4 separate regions of the Homo sapiens genome follow, and regions 1, 3 and 4 are each linked to region 2. The links are contacts of gene promoters, found by promoter capture Hi-C in blood cells and fetal thymus (Javierre and others, 2016). All regions are on one chromosome and are shown on one strand. The core of a region is centred on a gene start or on the middle of the fragment in contact, and the rest is flanking DNA. Distances in the headings are between cores, read along the strand shown.

Region 1 (3,109 bases), core at 247-2,746, 1.1 Mb after region 2:
ACATCTCTTAAAGGGCAGACCTGATGACAATAAATTCTCTCAGGTTTGTTTGTCTGAGAAACTCTTTATTCTTAACTTTTGAAGGACAATGCTGATGACTATAAATTTTCACTTTGGCTTTTTTTGTCTTTCAACACTTTAAATATTTTATTCCACTCTTCTTACTTGCATGGTTTCCAATGAAAAGTCAGCTGTAATTCTTAACATTTGTCCTCTACTGATAAGGCATTTTCCCCCCCTCTGGCTTCTTTCTACATTTTCTTCTTGTCTTTGGTTTTCTGCAATTTAAATAGTATATGCCTAGCTGTATTATTTTGGTATTTATTGTGACTGGTGCTCTCTGAGCTTCCTGTATTTCTGATTTTGTGTCTCTCAAAATTCTTGGTCATTACCACTCAAATAACAATATCACTGAAATATTCTCTCTCCTTTCTTTCCTTCTGGCTTTCTCTTTTTTCTTTCTAGCATTCCAATTGTGCTTACGTTGCACATTTGGAAATTGTCTCTACAATTTTTTATTGTTTTCTTCTCTCCTCTCTTTCTCTTTCTCCTTTCTTCTCTGTTTCTCTCCCTGTGTTATTCCCCCTCTCTCGCCTTCCTTCTTTCCTTCCTTCCTCCCTTCATTCCTTCTTTCTTTTATCCTTCCTTTCTTTTTCAGTTTTTGCATTTATATTTAGGATATTTCTTTTGACTTATATTCAAGAATATTGGCTCTTTTCTCAGCTATACCTAGTCTACTGGTGAGCTCTTCATAGGCATTCTTTATTTCCATTATAGTGAGTTAGAGAGAGGAGACAGAGAGAGAGACAGAGACAGAGAGAGAGAGAGAGACATCTAATTGTGTAATTGTCTGTTTCTCTTTCCAGTTTCATCCATTTTTGTTTCATGAATTTTGACACTCCATTATCAGGTGCATAAACATTCATGATTGTTATATCTTCTTGATAAATTGAGCTTTTTATTATTATGAAGTGACTTCGTATATCCCTTTGGATATATCTTTGCTCTGTAATGCAGTTTGTCATATATTAGTATAGTCATTCCAGCATTATTTTTATTAGGGTTGGCATGGAATATATTTTTCTATCATTTTAACCTATTTGTGTCTTTGTAATTAAAGCACGTTTCTTATAAATAGCATACAGATAAGTCTTGCTTATTTTATCCATCTCACAACTTCTGACCTATAATTGAGGTATTTAGACATTTTATATGTAAAGTAATTGTTAAAATGGTAGGCTTAGCCTGGCGCAGTGGCTCACGCCTGTAATCCCAGCACTTTGGGAGGCAGAGGCGGGTGGATCACGAGGTTAGGAAATCAAGACCATCCTGGCTAACACGGTGAAATCCCGTCTCTACTAAAAATACAAAAAAATTAGCTGGGCATGGTGGCGGGCGCCTGTAGTCCCAGCAACTTGGGAGGCTGAGGCAGGAGAATGGCGTGAACCCAGGAGGCTGAGCTTGCAGTGAGCCAAGATCGCGCCACTGCACTCCAGCCTGGGGTACAGAGCAAGATTCCGTCTCAAAAAAGAAAAAAATAATAACTTTGCGGGGCCGAGGTGGACAGATCACAAGGTCAAGAGATCGAGACCATCCTGGCTAACATGGTGAAACCCCGTCTCTACTAAATATACAAAAAATTAGCCAGGCGTGGTGGCGGGCGCCTGTAGTCCCAGATACTCAGGAGGTTGAGGCAGGAGAATGGCGTGAACCCGGGAGGTGGAGCTTGCAGTGAGCCGAGATCATGCCACTGCACTCCAGCCTGGGCGACAGAGCAAGACTCTGTCTCAAATAAATAAATAAATAAATAAATAAATAAATAAATAAATAAATGGTAGGCGTAAACCTACCATCTTGCTATTTGTTTTCTAACCATCTATTATTTGTGTTCTTATTCCCGTTCTTTTGCTTTATCTGGAATTAAATGATTTTTTTTATGGTTCCACTTTATTTCCTTTCTTGACTTACTAGCCATGACTCATTATTTTGTTACTTTGATGGATCTTTTAGGACTTATAGTATACATTTTTATTTAATCGCCATCTTACTTCAAGTGATATTATACACCTTTGCATGTAGTGTAAGAAACTTATAACATTGTATCTTCATTTTTCCCCTCAACTTTATTGTTATTGTTTGTATACACTGTACTTCCACATATATTCTAAACTTCCACACTACATTGCTATTACCTTATTTAAGCAGTCTATTATCTTTTAAAGGATTAAAGTATTTTTAAGTTTTATATATTTACATTTATAGACAACTTTTTGGTGTTCTTTATTCACTTTTGTAGATTGACATTTCTCTCTTGTGTTTTTTTTCTTCTGCCTGAAGAATGGTCCATTAACATTTCTAATAATGCAGTCCTTCCAGTGATAAAATTTTATACATTTTGTATTTCTGGAAAAGTGTTATTCACAGTTGATACTCCCATTATATTTCAATTAGATCATGCTGTTAGGCACATATGCCTTGTCTTTTGTGTTTTCTTTTCATCTTTTGATGTCATTTTGTCTTTCAGTTTTGATATTTTTGCACTGACTTATCTTGTAGCTCACCAATTATCTGTTCTGTTGTGTCTAATCTTCTATTAAACCTATAAATTAATTTCTTACTGTCAGATACAGTGTTGTCAGTTCTAAAGTTTCAGTTTACAGATCCTGTACTCTATAAAACTTGTCATATTTTCCCACTTTTAAAAGCATTTTTATCATAGTTATTTTAACTTGACTATCTGGATCTCCTGTGGGTTTTTTCTATGGTTTTCTAAAAATTTTATTTTGGTCAGTTGCTCCAGTGCTTCAAATGGGAAACCTGAAATTCAAGATGACATATTATAGAGGTTATGGGTTTTACTGTCCTCTTCCAACAAAAGTGCTATACTTTGATGTTTCTCCCCTCCAACCTCATGTTAAAATTTTGTTCCCAATGTTAAAGGTGGGTCCTAATGGATGTGTTTTGGTCATGGGAGCTGATTCTCTCATGATTAGATTAATGATCTTTCTCAGGAGTAAGTGAGTTTCCACTCTATTAGTTCCCACAAGAGCTGATTGTTAAAAAGAGCCTGGCATCTCCCCCACCTGCTTGCTTCCTCTCTTGCTATGTG
Region 2 (3,199 bases), core at 43-2,542:
AGGCGAGGGCTGGTTCCCGCCTCTCCACCTTGTGCGGGAGACTACTTTGAGAACACCCAACAACTTCGCAGCCTAAGAGGAATGCACAGCTCACCACTTCCGCTAGATGGCGCTACTTCCCCTACTCCGCCCGCGAGACACCCAATTTATAAAATAAATACAACCCAACACCTCCCAAAACCACACCACATAATAGCAGCTCACAGGCTCCCATTAGAAATCTCAATTTGGGAGAACTGATTCTACCTCCGAGCAAGTCTAATACAATTACATTAATAAGACGCAATCCCGAATTGCACCCGAGCGTCCCCCACACCCGCCCTCCCATTGAATACACCTGTCCCCCATGCCCGGGCTTGTACCCTGGGTTGAGCTGCGGCGCGAGCCGGCGCTGAATCGTCGCCGTGCCCTCCCGTCCACTTAGGAAAGCCGGGGCGGCTTGGCAATGGGCATCCTCGGCCCTCAATCCAAGGTCCGCACCTTCCCGTACGCCGGCGCGCCGAGGCAAAGGGCCGCCGGGACGCGAGCCCACGCGGTGCACTGCGCCGACATCCCCGAGGGCAGGAGATGGCCAGGCAGCTCCGCAGCCGGGCGTCGAGCGGGAGGCGGGGGCCCGGGCGGCGCGGGCCAATGGGGGTTCACGGCGGGACAGTCGGGTGGCCGGCTCCGTCCGGGGCTCCGCGAGCCGGGCTGAGGGAAGGAGCTCCCAGCCCGCACACGGTGTAAGGGACGTGTGCCGGGTCTGCCCAACCACGCGCGCTGGCGGCTGCCCGGGGGAGAGTATTTTAGGAAAAAAGAACAAACACCAAACCACAAAAACTTTCCTGCTGCCAACAGCTAAAGCGATAGAGGCGCAGCAAAGCTCCAAATGTGGGCAAGATGGGAGCAAGATGAGACGCGGGGCTAAGGAAGACCAAAGCAGCGCCGTGGCCCCGGCATGTGTCGGCGGCGCCTCGGAGATGTCAGAGCCGGGTCTGCCCGGCTCCCGACCCGCGCTTACCTTGGCGGCTGCATGAGCCCCTGCGGCCCGCGGGGGGTGGCGCTGGCGGGGCTGCGGGAGAAGAGGGGGTGTCGGGGCGCCGCTCGTCTGCCCCGGGGCAAGGTGGGAGGGGCTCCGCTGGCGCTGGTCCCCGCCGCCCCGGCCGGCTCAGCAGCGGCCCGGGGAGCGCCTCCTGCTCCCGGGCTGCATGCCTGCGAGCGCCTGGCGGAGCCGGCCCGGGAGCGAACGGCCAGTGCTTCCCCGGCCCAGCGGCTCGGGCGGCGCAGCCAGCGCTCGGGAGACAACTGCAGAGTGGGGCGGCCGGGACCAGCCCCCTCCCTCGCCCGGCCCCCGCCCGCCGCCGAGCGCGGCGTCGCGAGGTTCGTTTGCGCGCCGAGGGGAGGGGGCGGGCCGGGCGCCCGGGCCGCGGGCGGGGGGCGCGCGCGGGCGGGGCCGGCAGGGAGGGGCGGGGAGGAGCGGGGTGCGGGCTCGCGTTGCCCCGCCCCGCCGCGGCCCCACCCTCCCGCATCAGCACCGGCTGGGTGGGTGCGGAGTGCGCCAGCGGCCAAGTCAAGACTCCTTGAATGCTCAGGTTAGGGGGCGCGGGCGGCAAGTGCGGCGACTCCCCGGGGCGCCTCCAACTTTCCGAATCGCCCGCAGGGTTGCGGTGGAGCGCACGGTGTCCTTCAGTTAGGCGGTGGTCGAGGGGAGTTCCTCTGAGATTTCTGGAGAAGGCGGTTACATCCAAGACAAATGCTGTTGCGCTCTGCGGAGACGCACCTTTGTTCTATAGAGATTTTGTTGTTGTTTAAGAATCTTCCTGAAAAAACTAATACATATGTATTACATGCTAACACACGCATACATTCTTGCGTAGAATTGTACATAACTCAGGAGTGTCTAGAGTGAAAAGACCGTATCGCACTCCCTCCCACGGCCGCGGCTCTCCCACGGCCGCGGCTCCCCCGCGGTAACCTTCGGTCAGGGTGTGCTCTGCCGCGGTTCTTTCCAGTCTCTGCGCTTTTACATGCACACGCACAGATTGCGAGTGGAATCTCCTGGGCTTTTCAAAAGAATGTTTTCAACATTAAGCGCATGCACACAGTGGCTTGAACACGGCCACGTCGGGAGCAGTAAATCCCCAGAGGCTCCGGGAGCCCAGGGAAGGACCCTTGCTGTGAAACAGCAAAGAGCCACCCAATCGCCATGTGTGGATCTGAAACCCCAGCTGGAGCGTGAAGTCGGTCTGGTTACACAGCTCAGGCCCAAATTAGCACTGCACGGTTAGAGAGATTTGCCAGTACATTCTAGACAGGGTTATGACCTTCCCCTTCTTACAGAACAAACTGTCTTGAATTTTGATATGATGAGAACTCTGGATTTGCAAAATGAAAAGGTATCGTCCGCATTAAAACACGATCGTTATTTATGCGTGTGGTCTTCAGAGATGTGGTTTTAACTCAATATTCTCCGTTTTATTTGTCAAGTGTATTTGTATAATCTATAGCTGGGATATAAATAAAATTAAGTGGTTTAGCAGGAAGGGATTGGGGATGGGTTTCTAGAATTAGCTCTGACCTTCGGCAAGTCATCTAGCTCTGCTGGGCCTCAGTTTCCTCATCTATGAATAGTAGGGTGTGTGTGTGTGTGTGTGTGTGTGTGTGTGTGTGTGTGTGTGTGGTCTTCCTGCCCTGACATTCTGTGCCCTGACATTCAGTGAATAACCAATTTCTTCATCTTTCATAGCTCAGCTCCAACATCTTCCCCACCCTCTAGGGAGTCCTCACATCCGTGCCTTTCCTTCCTAACACTGAGCTCACTCGGTAATTAGGCGCTCATTAGAGTGACCTTTCCCTACATGTTGGCCTCTCCCACCGTACCATAAGCATCATGAGGGCAGGAACCAGGACTCCTTGGAGTCATCATTGCATTCCTAGCACTTAATATGGTGCCTGGCACACTACAAGAATCTCTGAATGACTGTCACGCAGATAGTAGATTTCTTACTGTTCTTCCAAATTGCCTGGCATTTTTAAAAGGTCTGTAAGTGGAAACGTGTCTTTTTAAAATGAGGCCTTTGGAAAGTAACCAGCAGGGTTTTCCCATGGTGGGGGACAAACAATCCACTGTCTAGATAAGGACAGACAATTCTCAGCTCAATCAAGGGCCGTGGAGGTAGCCGGTAACTATTTACCTTGATGAGTGCAGGCACCCGTGGAG
Region 3 (2,946 bases), core at 15-2,514, 1.0 Mb after region 2:
CCTCAGCTGTCAGGTAACTACAATGCTGGTGGCTGAGCAGCTGGGACAGAACCAGGTCAATGCGTCTCCATGTCTACCTCGGCTCCCAGCCTCTAGATCTTTTTGAGAAAGTCACTTTTCACCCAGATTTGATGGGAGCTTGCAAGTAAACCTGGAAACAGAGGTAGGCTAGTTAAGCTTAGGTATCTACATCTTTTTAACAAAAAATTAAAGAGCAATAAGGTGAAGTGACATGCCCCAAAGCATACAAACTTGTAAGGGGCAGAACCAGAATAAAATAAGATAGAGCTGCGGAGCTACTTACTACACAGTTTCCTTTATAAAACAATATTTGCCAGCTGTTATCAAGGCTGTTGACAATGTGCCTGGCTCTAGGCTACAAGCATTATATATAGGCATATCATTTAATCTTCACAATCACAGTGAGATAATATTCATAATCTCTATGTCACTGATGAGAAAATGGACTCTTGCAGAGGATAAAGGATTTTTCCCCAAGTACATAGCCAGTCGTGAGAGAAATAAGACTTGGACCCAAGTGTGGCCCCAGCACCTGTCACCTTTAATAGCATGTTATCCTTCCTCACCATGACCATCATAGCTGTGCTTGTGTATTTCAAATGTAAGTGCCCAATTACCTGGATATTGTTTCAGAGCATGTTCTTTTGGCTTCTGTCAAATGTAACATTTCGAGGGCTAGCAGTCCAGGAAACTGTTTGTATACTACAAAACACTAAATGAAGGAAAATGGCCACCTTCTATTTTAAGAAAGATAGCTCAGTTAAACACACCTTAAGTTTGCAGCAAAAAGCACACATTCACATCTTTCTAGACACCAAAAAAATGATGAAAATAAGAAAACCATGTCAGAGATTCTTAAAGCACAAAATACTGTGTAGCATGTGAGCATGCCAGTTTCCTAATACCTGTTATACTGATGCAATAATAAAATATTGTTAGTTATAAGTAAATTGGATTCTCTTCAGCTTTTGCAGCCAAGATTGACCTCTTAAGCTAAAGGCTTGGTAGGCCTGAGACTTTAATAAACACTCACCGATGAATGTTCACATTCCTTAACAGTATTATTTTTCACATCAACCAGAAAGCACATCCAACAGTCACCAAATTTATTAACATCTTTTAATAGCAATCTGCATATGGTATAAAGGTGAAACAAGTGAACTTACAAAGATGCAGAATTCTGATCAACCACTTTCATAGAAAGATCTACATGTTCTTCAAGGTTGGTCTCACAGCAAAGCAGGCAATAGAAAAGAGGTATTTGCCAAGCATTGATAAGAAATCAACCCAAACTTAAAAATGGAGTAGACATTTCAGGGGTTTACTATATTAGCATGATCAGAAAAGTAAAGACTGAAATTATTGTGGGGAAAGGTAACTTGTAGCATTATCAAAAAGATATATCACTTTATGTTTTAATTAAATCTGAAACAGATTATATGACATCTCATAAGACTGTTAAAGGGTTACATTTGTGCTTTAAAGTGCAAGAAATAATTCTGACTGTTTAAAATGAATTCTCTCCTTTTTATGTTTTTACTAACTCTATCCTACAAAGTATGTATTTCTAAAATTAAGAACTCACAAATCCTCTTCTGGGTTCATTCTATACATATGTTTATTTCCCTTTAATTTGATGGGGCCAAGCTGTGGTGAAAACAGCTCTTCCTCCCCCAAAAAGGCAAAGATCAGCAGTAGGACCACACGGCAAAACTCTGGTAACAGCCAACAATATCACAGTGCCATTTAAGCAAAAGATTCCATCACGCTAAAGCGAGTAAAGCATTTTCTCTAAGGTGGATGCACAGATACCCCATTGTCCCTATAGTATACCATGGAGACCCTGCATAGGAGGACTCTGCGTGTGTTCCTTTTCATTTTAGGCACGATTCTAAAAAAGCAAGTCTCTGATTCCTGCTTACTGACACACCCAGACCCTTGCCCTGTACTCTAAGCATACGGTCTCTTCCATGAGCACTCAGTGAAGAGCTATGTTTAACTATTAGTCCGCACCATGGCATGAATAGTGAACCCCTTGAAGTTTGAGATTATGTCTAATTTCCCTATACATCATCTGAACATAGCTCCATTACTTGCATACACAGATTACAAAGAGTTCAATGAATGTTTGCTGACTGGGTGTGCTGGGAGCTAGTAAATTGAAAGGAGCTACAAAAGACAACGAGAAGGAGAATGTGATGTCATCAATCTGATGAAAATGGAAGGCAGAGGAAAACCATTAGAAGTGCTCACAAGAACTCTTTTCTTTAAAAGGAAACATGTCTAGTTAGAAATTTAGAAAACAGGTACATGTTAACTAAAAATAAATTGAAAGCTTACCCTCAATCCTGACACTTGGAGGTAATTTAGCGTGTTAGTAGTTGTTCCTCATGTTGGTATTTATGGTTTGGTCTTATTCTCTCTTTTTCTCTTGTGTTTTTATAATACTGAAAGAATATGTTGTACTTCATCCTTCTTCCCCTTATACTACATATTACAAGCATCTATTCATGTTATTACATAGTCTCCCATATCAATTTTTATGGATATATTTCACTACTAATTGTGACATAATTTAGTCAAAACCACCTCCTGTTTGGGGACACCATTCTAGGGAATTTTTACTTTTCCATTATTATGAAAACCGAGGTAGCTACTCTTATGGGTGGTGGTGTTATTTTTAATCATCATTGGCTGAGTCTATTTAATGAGAGATGGATAATTAGAGACACTGAAGGTATCCTTGTTATATAGATAAAGTCACGCACATAATAACAACCTGCATCCTACAAAAACAAAAATGATTACATTTATTTGGATTACTCATTCTTTTCTCCTTTGCTAGGCACTGGAAATACCTAGATGTTATCAAAAAGACAAAAGACAAAAGATAAGTATTGGTGAGGATGAGTGCTATGGTCAATC
Region 4 (3,024 bases), core at 215-2,714, 1.0 Mb after region 2:
TGATGGGGGTTGTTGCCCCCTCTGTCTCCTTCTCCCCAGGCCTCCTACTTCCTTGAGACATAACAATATTGGAATTAGGCCAATTAAGTGTTTGAGGGAAAGGAAGAGTACTACATCTCTCACTATTTTCTTTTTAAGTTCTGGGGTACATGTGCAGGATGTGCAGGTTTGTTACATAGGTAAACGTGTTCCATGGTGGTTTGCTGCACCCATCAACCCATCACCTAGGTATTAAGCCGGGCATCCATTAGCTCTTTTTCTAATGCCATCCCCACCCCCTGCCCTCCCCTGACAGCCCCCAGTAAGTGTTGTTCCCCTCTCTGTGTCCATGTGTTCTCATTGCTCAGCTCCCTCTTATAAGTGAGAACATGTTGTGTTTGGTTTTCTGTTCCTGTGTTAGTTTGCTGAGGATAACAGCTTCCAGCTTCATCCATGTCCCAGTAAAGGACATGATCTTGTTCCTTTTCATGGCTGCATATTTTTCCATGAATTGATTAAGCTTACTAAGGAAGGCATGTCAAAAGCAGAGGTAGGCCAAAGGCTAGGTCTCTTGTATCGGTTAGCCAAGTTGTGAATGCAAAGGAAAAGTTGTTGGAGGAAATGAATAGTGCTATTCCAGTGAACACGTGAATGATAAAAAAGAAAACAGCCTTATTGCTGATATGGAAAACAAGCAGCCAGAGAAGTAAGAAGAAAACAGGATAGATGAAGTGGGAAGAGGACTTTAGAGAAGCAGGGGTTGCCAACAGCATCAAATGTTTCATAGTAGTCTACTCAGATGAGGAAGTGTTTGTAAGATTGCAGAGGTAACACCATGATTTAGCAAAAGCAGTTGTTAGTGGTGTTACTGGAAAGGGGTCCCAATCTAGACGGCAAGAGAGAGTTCTTGGACCTTGCTCATGAAAGAATTCCGCGAGTTCATAAAGTGAAAGCAAGTTTATTAGGAAACTAAAGAAATAAAAGAATGGCTACTCTATAAACAGAGCAGCTCTGAAGGCTGCTGGCTGGCTATTTTTATGATTATTTATTGATTGTATGCTAAACAAGGGGTGGCTTATTCATGAGTTTTCCCAGAAAGGGATGGGCAATTTCTGGAACTGAGGGCTCCTCCCCTTTTAAGACCATTTAGGGTAAGGTCCAAACATTGCCATGGCATTTGTAAGCTGCCATGGCACTGGTGGGAGTGTCTTTTAGCATGCTAATGCATTATAATTAGCATATAATGAGCAGCGAGGATAACCAGAGGTCACTTTCATCACCATCTTTGCTTTGGTGGGCTTTGGCTGGTTTCTTTACTGCAAACTGTTTTATTAGCAAGGTCTGATAAAAGTGACCTATATCTTGTGTTGACCTCCTATGTCATTCTGTGACTAAGACTGCCTAACTACCTGGGAATGCATCCCGGTAGGTCTCAGCCTCATTTTACCCAGCCCCTATTCAAGATGGAGTCACTCTGGTTCAAACACCTCTGACGGTGGCAGAATAAATAAGATAAAGAAATTGGGTACCAAACTAAGACTTCCAGAACACAAAAGCCAACAGCCAATATTTAGTTTTTAGATCCTCGCTCCAGTATTGGACCCTATTGTCTACTCCCTCCTTCATGGAAAAGAGATGAAAAGTTCAGAAAGGCAAATGAGGCAAAAAGAGAAGAGGCAAAGAGGAAAACCAGTGCAGAATAGTTTATGAAAAGGGCATAAAGTTAAAGGTTTCATGGATTGAGCATTTTGTATGTGTGTGTGAAATACACACTGGAAGTACAACTGTGTGCTCAGGGTGGGCGGGAAGAAGAGATGAAAGTTTGAAGAGAGCAACTGAAGGGCTCTGAAAGGGAACACGACAAGGGTTGTGGATTTTTAGGGTATTGAAACAGCCTTTGCAAAACTTATATCAGTGAGAAAATTATAACTGTAAGCTAAGCTAACCCACCCCCCATCTTGCCTTTTCCTGAACTGTTCCTGGGCTACAGGGCCAAGCTAACTTTGGAAGACATTTAGGCTTCATTTTAAATGATAATAGGCCTCGCCCAAAACTCTACTTCTTTTGTAAAACTAATAGGAGGCCTCCAGGCTGAGGGAAGGAGAGGAACCTGGGTCCTGCTAAAGTGCAGAAATTATTCAGAGGTTATAAGATATACAACTTCCTTCAATTACTCCTACAAATAACACCGCTATTGTAGATTGGCCTTTTGAGATCTCTTTCCAGGTTTTTTTGCATGTCTGACCCCTACGACTCCACCTGGACCCAATGGCTGCATCTGGACCGACAACCCCACTCCTGTGGCCTCACCCAGAAGCAATTCAGCCTGCAGGAGGACAGCATCAACCCCCTATGATTCCATCTCTGCCCCAATCAATCAGCAGTAAGCACCTGTTACCTGGCCATTCCCACCCCTTCTCCCAAACTGCCGTTAAAAAACCCCTAACCTACAAGCTTTGAACAACGTGATTTGAGTACGAACTCTATCTCCCATGTGGCATGGATGGCCTTTTGTCTACTAAACTCTTTCTCCACTATAATGTCATGGTCTTTCTTTATTCAGTGGACAGGAAGAAACCCCTGGGCAGTTACAGTATCAATCTGCACCAAGTTAATTTGCATAGTAGAGTTAAAAAACCCAAGCATTTTTTCTAGAAGAGGTAGGCTATTAACAAAATGGGTACTGAGCAATTAAGAGAATCCTGCTCAGTACTATGATCTTGGTCTTCACCCAGGTATAAAGAATCTCTGTGACATTGGCTATCTCTTGAACTTCATTTCATTATCTGTAAATTGAACCAAAAGCTTCCTCGGCTCCTTCTCAGCTCTAGCAAGCCTATATCTATAACTTGCTCAAAATCACACAGACATCTCAAGCTGTCTTCCCTCTCCCCCGGATAATTACTGTAGTTATTAATAGATATATAGTACCCTAATTAATTTCACAACCCTTTGAGGGAGGTACTATTATGATCCCACTTTATTGATAAGGAAAGCAAGGCTCATAAAGGTTATGAAAATTGCTCAAGTACACACAACTAGAAA

The links. The method cuts DNA at HindIII sites, captures the fragments that hold promoters and counts their contacts. A CHiCAGO score of 5 or more calls a contact.
Region 1: a contact is called between a fragment that was not itself captured here and the fragment with the promoter of RGMA in region 2, in 1 of 17 cell types (erythroblasts). The highest score is 5.4, in erythroblasts.
Region 3: a fragment that was not itself captured here is called in contact with the fragment with the promoter of RGMA in region 2 in 2 of 17 cell types (M2 macrophages and M0 macrophages); the score reaches 5.9 in M2 macrophages.
Region 4: a contact is called between a fragment that was not itself captured here and the fragment with the promoter of RGMA in region 2, in 10 of 17 cell types (M2 macrophages, neutrophils, M0 macrophages and 7 more). The highest score is 9.4, in M2 macrophages.

The regions. Positions count from the first base shown.
Region 1 is chr15:94,141,519-94,144,627 of GRCh38, forward strand. No RefSeq gene overlaps it. Among named protein-coding and RNA genes, the nearest start is that of LINC01581, 35 kb to the left of the region's middle. The HindIII fragment of the contact is 3,948 bases long and covers 1-3,109 here.
Region 2 is chr15:93,087,919-93,091,117 of GRCh38, forward strand. It overlaps RGMA (repulsive guidance molecule BMP co-receptor a), which reads right to left and starts at 1,293. Exons shown (of 4, transcript NM_020211.3): 1 at 1,001-1,293. The coding sequence starts at 1,014. It overlaps LOC101927025 (a long non-coding RNA gene), which reads left to right and starts at 1,296. Exons shown (of 5, transcript XR_007064769.1): 1 at 1,296-1,359. The HindIII fragment of the contact is 10,450 bases long and covers 1-3,199 here.
Region 3 is chr15:94,089,808-94,092,753 of GRCh38, forward strand. All of the region lies in intron 1 of LINC01581 (long intergenic non-protein coding RNA 1581), which reads right to left. The region is part of intron 1 of LOC105369203 (a long non-coding RNA gene); the gene reads right to left. Among named protein-coding and RNA genes, the nearest start is that of LINC01581, 17 kb to the right of the region's middle. The HindIII fragment of the contact is 2,179 bases long and covers 176-2,354 here.
Region 4 is chr15:94,121,915-94,124,938 of GRCh38, forward strand. No RefSeq gene overlaps it. Among named protein-coding and RNA genes, the nearest start is that of LINC01581, 15 kb to the left of the region's middle. The HindIII fragment of the contact is 1,934 bases long and covers 498-2,431 here.